Linked DNA regions of Homo sapiens: region 2 is linked to region 1. The links are contacts of gene promoters, found by promoter capture Hi-C in blood cells and fetal thymus (Javierre and others, 2016). All regions are on one chromosome and are shown on one strand. The core of a region is centred on a gene start or on the middle of the fragment in contact, and the rest is flanking DNA. Distances in the headings are between cores, read along the strand shown. Region 1 holds the start of ZRSR2 (zinc finger CCCH-type, RNA binding motif and serine/arginine rich 2). Region 2 has its middle 50 kb from the start of MAGEB17-AS1.

Region 1 (4,661 bases), core at 1,569-4,068:
CTATGGCCGGGTGCGGTGGCTCATGCCTGTAATCCCAGCATTTTGGGAGGCCGAGGCGGGCAGATTACCGGAGGTCAAGAGTTCGAGAACAGCCTGGCCAATATGGTGAAACCCCGTCTCTACTAAAAAATACAAAAATTAGCCAGGTGGTTGTGGCATGCACCTGTAATCCCAGCTACGCAGGAGGCTGAGGCAGAAGAATCGCTTGAGCCCAGGAGGCGGAGGTTGCAGTGAGCCGAGATTTCTTAGAAGGAATTGTTACTTATTGTTCTGAAGTGAAAGTCTGGTCTGATTCAGAAGAAATGTTACAACAACTTAAACACTGATGCTTTCAGAACGGGCAGCAATTCTCAGCGTAAATTCTGATCACAGGGACCAGCAAAATTGGTGAGTTGCATAGCTACAACATTCTGTGCCATCCAGGGCACTCTAGTTTGGGGATACAACTGCCAAACCTCCAACTAGAGAGTTTAGTTTAAGATTTAGTCAAGAAGCAGAAAGGTAAAGGTGACAATGTGTAGTAAACCATGATAGATGTTATAAAAGGTGGAATACTTGTACTGGAAATGCATACAGCGCCTCATCCCCTCTTGAGGGGTCAGGAAGTTTTCACACTAATGATGATGGTGATGAGATGATGTAACAGCTAAAGTTTTGGAGGCATTCACTATTGCTAGGCACTGTATCAGCATATAACATGGCTTATCTTACTCAGTTTTCACAATAAAAGGGTTATGAGATGGGAACTATTATTACTATCTTGATTTTTACAAATGAGAAAACAGGAGTAGACATTAAGGAATTTACTCAAGATCACAGCCAACCAATGCACTGAGCTGGACAAGGTCAACTTGGGGGTGAAGGGCATATGTGTTGCTCCAAGTGTGTCAGTATAAGAGAGATTAGGGTGAGGTTTTATGCAGAGTTTGGGCTTCAGCTGAGTAATTCTAAGGAGGGATTAGGGGAAGGAAGGCAGTTTAGTAATTGAGTATCTCAGAAACTTTAATTTGGAGGAGAACGGAACAAAGGTAGGCCAAGGAAGCTATTCAATCACTCAAAAGATAGAGGTTATTAGTCATTTTACAGCTGTAATGCATCCTTGTGAGGAACATTTTTTGCTTGGCCTTGTCCCTGGCCTTGTATGTGTACATTACAGTCTGATTATTAGTTGGGATGATTTTTAGTTTCTCAATCCCTACTCTCATTGCCCCAGTTTAATTCCTCAACACCTCTCACCTAGATTATTGTGATACTCTAGTTTTATCTTTTAAATCCTTTATATTGCAAAGCAGAGTGATTTACCTAAAACACAAACACAACCACAATAAGCCTCTATTTAAAAAGCTTTCAACGGTTCACTGTTGTCTCTACAGAATGTAAACAGAGCGTCTTAACATGGCACACCAGGCCCTCCTTAACCTAGCCCTCCCAGCCCATCACAACAACTATATTCCTTGATATTCTCGAATTGCACTTTATTTTGTTTTGTTTTTTTGAGACGGAGCCTTGCTCTGTTGCCCAGGCTGGAGGGCAGTGGTGCCATCTCGGCTCACTGCGGCCGCCACCTCCTGGGTTCAAGCAGTTCTCCTGTTTCAGCCTCCAGAGTAGCTGGGACTACAGGCATGTGCCACCACACCCGGCTAATTTTGTATTTTTAGTAGAGACGGGGTTTCACCATGTTGGCCAGGCTGACGAACTCCTGACCTCAGGTGATCCACCCGCCTAGGCCTCCCAAAGTGCTGGGATTACAGGCGTGAGCCGCTGCACCCAGCCTCGAACTGCACTTTAAATTGGATAGCTGGGCGGGCGTGGTGGCTCGCGCCTGTATTCCCAGCTACTCGGGAGGCTGAGGTGGAAGGATTGCTTGACCCCAGGAGGTCGAAGCTGCAGCGAGTCGTGATTGCGCCACTGCACTCCAACCTGGGTGAAAGACAAGACCCTGTCTCTAATATATAAGAAATGAATAAATAAATAAATTCGATTGCCAAAATTCTTGCTGTTCCCAGCATATTCCACTTTCACCTTTCAGCGCCTTTGCTTATGCTGATCTGACTGTAACTGCATTCCCACCCTTCTCCTTCTGGGTAAAGGGCATCTTCTTTCCAAACTCAACTCTTAGCATCAGAAAGCTGTCCCTGATACTGCAGTTGAGTCGCATGTGATACTGAAAAAAAAAGAAAAAAGGAAAAAAAAGAGAGCTCTCCCTGAATCCCTTGGTGGACTATGTTAGGTAAACTTCATCTTTGCCTGCATCATATTATGTATTGGTTCTTCTCTGCCCCCTCGATTGTAAACTCCTCAGGGGCAGAGGTAACAGCTTTGCAGCCCTGGGAGTTAGGTTTGCTTAAGGGACCAGAACAGGTGTGACTGGCAGGGAGCGAAGTCTGGAGCTTTGTCTGAGGCGCTGATAGGTGGATCGGCGGAAGGACGCGGAACCTGGACAGGTCGGAAATAAAGCCGGGCGAGCAGCTCTGTGCGCGATGTGACTTCATGAGTGGATGCTGAGAAAAGCGGCAGAGTACGACTTTAACCGCCTAGCCACAACACGTCCTGCTAGGGCGAGGAGGGAGACAGTGATACAGCACTGGGCAAGTGCTGAAGCGACAATTACTTCTAGGGCGGGGTAAAAGCCCCAGAGTATTTTTGCTGGAAGGAGGTATTTATTTGAGCAGGGTTCTGGAAGACGAGCCGCCGAAGGGTACCTCCGGCTTTCCGTTTCAAGTCCCACGCTGGTGGAGGTTGCTCGGTACCCGCGCCTGCGCGTGCCCGTCTCGACTCTTAGGCCCGCCCTTTCCTGCCAGACCTGGAGGGGCGGGGCGGTGCCGGCAAGATGGCTGCGCCCGAGAAGATGACGTTTCCCGAGAAACCAAGGTAAGCGCCGTACGGGGAGATGAGCAGGCGAGCGGGCCGATCGTGGGCATGGAGGATGTGGTGGCAGGAAGAAAAGAGAAGCTGGGCCAAGCTAAGTGAGCCACCGCGGCAGCTCCATTCCTTCCTGGTGCGCGCTCTGGTGCCCTCCCCGGACTTGCACGGGCGGCTGTGGCTCAGGCAAGCGAGGAGAGGATCAGGTTGGCGGATGGAGAAGAACTGTCTGGGAGTGGGAGGATGAGGCGATGATAGATGGCTGTTCTGTAATTAAAATACAGGAAGCAAGGTTTCTCTCCTCAGCACCCGAACTATTTCCTTTCATTGGGCACAGAGGAGCGGGGAGCTCGGGCAGCGCTGCATTGTAGCCGCTGATCGTCGTGTATATGTCTTAATCTTCCAGCCACAAAAAGTACAGGGCCGCCCTGAAGAAGGAGAAACGAAAGAAACGTCGGCAGGAACTTGCTCGACTGAGAGACTCAGGTGATGGACTCTTTATTCTGTTTTCTGTGTTGTGAAATTGCTCTGTCCACTCCAGCCCTAACTTGAAGCCCCAGTGTCAGAAGGAAGTCAAATATTGTGTCGGAGGAAAAATAGCTGTGACTTCTGCCCCCAAGTAGTTATTTAGAAACACATGTCAGAAACAATGTTAACATACTAAAGGCAGGAAGAGGAAGTCTTGGTGAATGATCGCCCACTGATTCTGTGTAACTTATAAAGTATCTAATATTACAGTTGCAAGCTTCATGAATTACAGCAGCTAGCACAGTCCTTGCACACGTAGTAAGTATTCGGTGAATGTTTTTCTTCGTAAAACCAGCAGGAGTTGAAGGTATTAATTAGACGTTTTGCAAGTTTTTCTCAAACTTGACTAATATGAGACCCTTGGTTTACCCAAATTATTATGTTATTCAAATATATATCAACATAATACTAGTTATGAAGCTCATTTATTTATTTTTGAGACAGGGTCTTGTTCTGTTGCCCAGGAGGGATGTGCACAACCACGGCTCACAGCAGCCTCCACCTCCCAGGCTCAAGCAGTCCTCCCACCTCAGCCTCCCTAGTAGCTGGGACTACAGGCATTCACCACCACACCTGGCTAATTTTTTCTTTTCTTTTCTTTTTTTTTTTTTTTTTTTTTGAGACGGAGTCTCGCTCTGTTGCCCAGGCTGGAGTGCAGTGGCACGATCTTGGCTCACTGCAGCCTCCGCCCCCTGGGTTCAAGCAGTTCTCCTGCTGCAGCCTCCCGAGTAGCTGGGATTACAGGCGTGCGCAACCACACCCGGCTAATTTTTGTATTTTTAGTAGAGATGGGGTGAAACCCCATCATGTTGGCCAGGCTGGTTTCGAACTTCTGACCTCAGGTGATCCACCCACCTCAGCCTCCCAAAGTGCTGGGATTAAAGGCGTGAGCTACCGCCCCTGGCCCACCTGGCTAATTTTTAAAATTTTCGTAGAGACGGGATTTCACTGTGTTGCCTGGGCTGGTCTCGAACTCCTGGCCTCAAGCAATCCTTCCACCTCGGCCTCCCAAAGTGCTGGGATTATAGGCATGAGCCACCACACCTGACCTGAAGCCATTGTTTGACTATAAAACAATATATGGGCTGGGCGCGTGGTGGCTCATGCCTGAAATCCCAGCACTTTGGAAAGCCGAGGCAGATGGATCACCTGAGGTCAGGGGTTCGAGACCTGCCTGGCCAACATGATGAAACCCTGCCTCTACTAAAAATACAAGATTAGCTGGGCTTGGTGGCAGGTGCCTGTAATCCCAGCTACTCAGGAGGCTGAGG
Region 2 (4,427 bases), core at 169-2,668, 430 kb after region 1:
TTCATACTTAAAGCTGTTAGTGTCACACGCATCTGTGTGAAGAGACCACCAAACAGCCTTTGTGTTAGCAACAAGGCTGTTTATTTCACCTGGGTGCAGGCAGGCTGAGTCCGAAAAAGGAGTCAGCAAAGGGTGGTGGGATTATCACTGGTTCTTATAGGTTTGGGATAGGCGTACAAAGTACATTCTCAAGGGCGGGGAGAATATTACAAAGTACCTTCTTAAGGGCAGGGGAGAATATATGTATCAGGGTGGGGCAGGAACAAATCACAATGGTGGAATGTCATCAGTTAAGGCTATTTTCAGTGATTTTGTGGATCTTCCGTTGCTTCAGGCCATCTGGATGTATACATGCAGGTCACAGGGGATATGATGGCTGAGCTTGGGCTCAGAGGCCTGACATTCCTGTCTTCTTATATTAATAAGAAAAACAAAACAATACAGTGGTGAAGTGCTGGGACAGCGAACATTTTTTGGGGTGGTATGGAGAGATAACGGACGATGTTTCTCAGGGCTGCTTCGAGCGAGATTAGGGTCAGCGTGGGAACCTAGAGTGGGAGAGATTAAACTGAAGAAAGATTTTGGGGTAAGGGGTGATATTGTGGGGTTGTTAGAAGGAGCATTTGTCGTATAGAATGATTGGTGATGGCCTGGATGTGGTTTTTATATGAATTGAGAAACTAAACAGAAGACACAAGGTCCAAATAAAAGAAGGAGAAAAATAGGTATTAAAGGACTAAGAATTGGGAGTACCCAGGACATCCAATTAGAGAGTGTCCAAGGGGGTTCAACGTAATTATTTGCTTGGTTGGAGAGTTTTTGGGCTCTATCCTTGAGTTTTTTTTAATGTTGACATATACCAGGCCAGATTGATTTAGGTAAAAACAACACTCTTCATTTAAAAATATACAGAGTCCTCCTTTTTCAGCAGTGAGTAAATCGAGGCCTCGGTGATTTTGGAGGAAAGAGAAATGCAAAGCCAGCAATTGTTTGTTAAAGAAGGATTAGAAATGGCTAGGAGAGAGTGAGTGAGATTGATAGTGTGGTGGAGATAGCTGGGGAAAGGTAGAGGGTGGCATAAGAACGGGAACGAGAATAAGAGTGAGTATAAAAGTAAAGAATAGGACTTCATCAGGGTGAAAGTGTTGGAGTGTGTCCTGTCAGCAAAGATCATCTATCCACTCCAAGAGGGAGTCAAGAGTGGCGGATTGGGGATAGATTTTCACAATGGAAAGGAAATGAGAAGTTTTAAGAGGCAGGCTAATGGCTTGTAACCTACATGGAAGAGGTTATGAATACAACAGGCCTGTGAGGCTGGAAGGAGATACAAATTTTTTTGGTTTAAGAACCATCTGCCTTGAGTGGAGAGGGAGTGATAGGTGGAAACTTCAGTGGGAGAGTAAATAGGAGTGACCAATGAGAAGGAGAAAAACTGGCCATGAGGGACAGAAGTTGGAAAGCTAGCTGCTTCTTTAGCGACCTTATCAGCATAAGTGTTGCCCTGAGCAATGGGATCTGATGGCTTTTCATGGCCCTTGCAGTGAATGACTCCAGCTTCCTTTGGAAGTAAAGCAGCTTTAAGCAGAGTTTTTATTAAGGAGGCATTAATGATGGGGGACTCTTATGTAGTGAGGAAATTTCTTTCTGCCCATATAACAGCATGGTGGTACTGGATATGGAAGGCATATTTAGAATCAGTATAAATATTGACAAGTAGTCCCTTTGCAAGAGTGAGGGCCTGAGTTAAGGCAATGAGTTTGGCTTGCTGAGAGGTAGTGGAGGGGGGCAGGGCAGTAGCCTCAATGATAAATGTGGAAGATACTATAGCATAGCCTGCCTTTGCTGGTGAGTGGCAATTAGGCCTGGTGGAACTGCCATCAATAAACCAAGTGTGATCAGGGTGAGGAACAGGAAAGAAGGAAATATGGGGAAATGGAATGAATGTCAGGTGGATCAGAGAGATACAGTCATGGGGGTCAGGTGTGGTATCAGGAATAATGTGGGAGGCCGGATTGAAGTCTGGGCCAGCAACAATGGTGATTGTGGAAGACTCAACAAAGAGTGAGTATAGCTGAAGGGTCTTGGGGGCAGAAAGTATATGCGTTAAGTGTGAGGAAGAAAATAGATTTTGAAAGTTATGGGAACTGTAGAGAGTAAGTGGAGCATAGCTTGTGATTTTGAGGGCCTCTAAAAGTATTAAAGCAGTGGCAGCCACTGCATGCAAACATGAGGGCTAGGCTAAAACAGTAAGGTCAAGTTGTTGGGACAGAAAGGCTACAGGGTGCAGTCCTGGCTCTTGTGTAAGAATTCTGACCACACAGCCCTACACTTTGGCTGTGTGTAATGAAAAGGGTTGGGATGAGTTAGGGAGTGCTAGTGTGGGAGCAGCTTTTAGGGCTGTTTTTTAAGGAATGGAAAGGGGAGTGGGGAAAGGATTTAGGATTTATGGGGTCAACTAGGTTTATCTAGAACAGAATAACGGGTTGTGGAGGAGATGTTGAGGATAGGAGAGTATATGGGTTTGGCACCACGGGGTGGATAGGCAAGACAATTTGGTTGATAAGGCACAGACCCTGAACTAACCTGTAAGACTTGTCCAGTTTTTGGACAGGTAAAATGGGGGAATTGTAAGGGGGAGTTTATAGGCTTTAAAAGGCCAGGCTGTAGCAGGCAAATGATAACAGGCTTTAATCCTTTTAAAGTGTGCTGTGGGATGGGATATTGGCATTTAGCGGGGTAAGGGTGATTAGGTTTTAATGGGATGGTAAGGGGTGCATGATCGGTTGCCAAGGAGGGAGTAGAGGTGTCCCATACTTGTGGATTAAGGTGGGGAGATACAAGGGGAGGATGTGAAGGAGATTTGAACTGGGGAAAAAGGCGGCAATGAGGTGTGGCTGTAGCCTAGGAATAGTCAGGGAAGCAGATAATTTAGTTAAAATGTCTTGACCTAATAAGGGAGCTGGGCAGGTGAGGATAACTGAAAAAGAGTGCATAAAAGAATGTTGTCCAAGTTGGCATCAGAGTTGGGGAGTTTTAAGAGGTTTAGAAGACTGGCCGTCAATACCCACAACAGTTATGGAGGCAAAGGAAACAGGCCCTTGAAAAGAAGGTAATGTAGAGTGGGTAGCCTCCATATTGATTAAGAAGGGGACGGACTTACCCTCCACTGTAAGAGTTACCCAAAGTGTCTGTGACGGTCCAGGAGGCTTCTGAGGCGATCGGGCAGTGTCAGTCTTCAGCCACTCAGCCAAGAAGATCTGGGAAGGAGTCAGAGAGCCTTGGGCCAGAGTTCCAGCGGCTCTGGGAGTGGCTGCCAGGTGAGCTGGACAGTCCGATTTCCAGTGGGGTCCCACACAGATGGGACGCAGCTTAGGAGGAATCCTGGGCTGCAGGCATTCCTCAGCCCAGTGGCCAGATTTCCAGCACTTAAAGCAAGCTCCTGGGGGAGGCGATCCTGGAGGAATGCCTGGCCACTGCGGTTCAGATGTTTTGAAGTTCTTGTGTGCTGGAGATGTGGCTGGGGTTTCTCTCACAGCAGAGGCAAGTAATTGCAACTCTTCTCTCTTATTGCACACCTTGAAGGCAGGGTCAATTAAGTCCTGTTGTGGGGTTGAGGGCCAGAATCTAATTTTTGGAGCTTTTTCTAATGTCGGGAGTGGGTTGGGTAATAAAATGCATATTGAGAATAAGACGGCCTTCTGGGCCCTCTGGGTCTAAGGCAGTAAAGTGTCTAAGGGTTGTTGCCAAACGGGCCATGAACTGGGCTGGGTTTTTATATTTGATGAAAAAGAGCCTAAACACTAACTGATTTGGGAGAGGTTGGATAAAGAAAAAGGAGCATTAACCTTGGCTATGCCTTCAGCTCCAGCTACCTCTCTAAAAGAAAATTGTTGGGCAGGTTGGGGAGGGCTAGTCGTGGAATGAAACTGTAAGCCAGACCTGGCGTGAGGAGGGGAGGTAATAGGAGGGTTATAGGGTGGGGGAGTGGAGGCTGAAGAAGAGTTGGGACCTGGCTCGGCCTGGCGACGAGCAGCTTGAGGAGAAGGGGAGAGGTCAGATGAGTCCGTAGAAAAGAAGCATTCAAAGGACTCAGAACTTGGGGTGGAGACTGAAGGAACAGACAGGAGAGAAAGAAGAAAGATTTGGAACGAGTCGCATTGGGAGGAGAGACTAGGGAGGGACTGATGTGTAAAAGAATGCCTGGACGTCAGGCACCTCAGACCATTTGCCCATTTTTCGACAAAAATCATCCAGGTCTTGTAAAATGGAGAAATCAAAAGTGCTGTTTTCTGGCTACTTGGAACTATTGTCGAGTTTGTACTGGGGCCAAGCGGCATAGCAGAAGAAAATAAGATGTTAAGGTTTTAGGTCAGGTGTGAGTTGAAGAGGTTTTAAGTTTTTGAGAACACAGGCTAAGGGAGAAGAAG

Evidence for each region. The method cuts DNA at HindIII sites, captures the fragments that hold promoters and counts their contacts. A CHiCAGO score of 5 or more calls a contact.
Region 2: a fragment that was not itself captured here is called in contact with the fragment with the promoter of ZRSR2 in region 1 in 1 of 17 cell types (M1 macrophages); the score reaches 5.7 in M1 macrophages.

The regions. Positions count from the first base shown.
Region 1 is chrX:15,787,666-15,792,326 of GRCh38, forward strand. It overlaps ZRSR2 (zinc finger CCCH-type, RNA binding motif and serine/arginine rich 2), which reads left to right and starts at 2,819. Exons shown (of 11, transcript NM_005089.4): 1 at 2,819-2,871; 2 at 3,269-3,348. The coding sequence starts at 2,831. CA5B (carbonic anhydrase 5B) reads left to right here. Exons shown (of 8, transcript NM_007220.4): 8 at 1-746. It overlaps CA5BP1-CA5B (CA5BP1-CA5B readthrough), which reads left to right. Exons shown (of 12, transcript NR_160544.1): 12 at 1-746. RefSeq lists enhancers at 2,697-3,146, 3,805-4,306. The HindIII fragment of the contact is 2,263 bases long and covers 1,343-3,605 here.
Region 2 is chrX:16,216,853-16,221,279 of GRCh38, forward strand. No RefSeq gene overlaps it. Among named protein-coding and RNA genes, the nearest start is that of MAGEB17-AS1, 50 kb to the left of the region's middle. The HindIII fragment of the contact is 8,679 bases long and covers 1-4,427 here.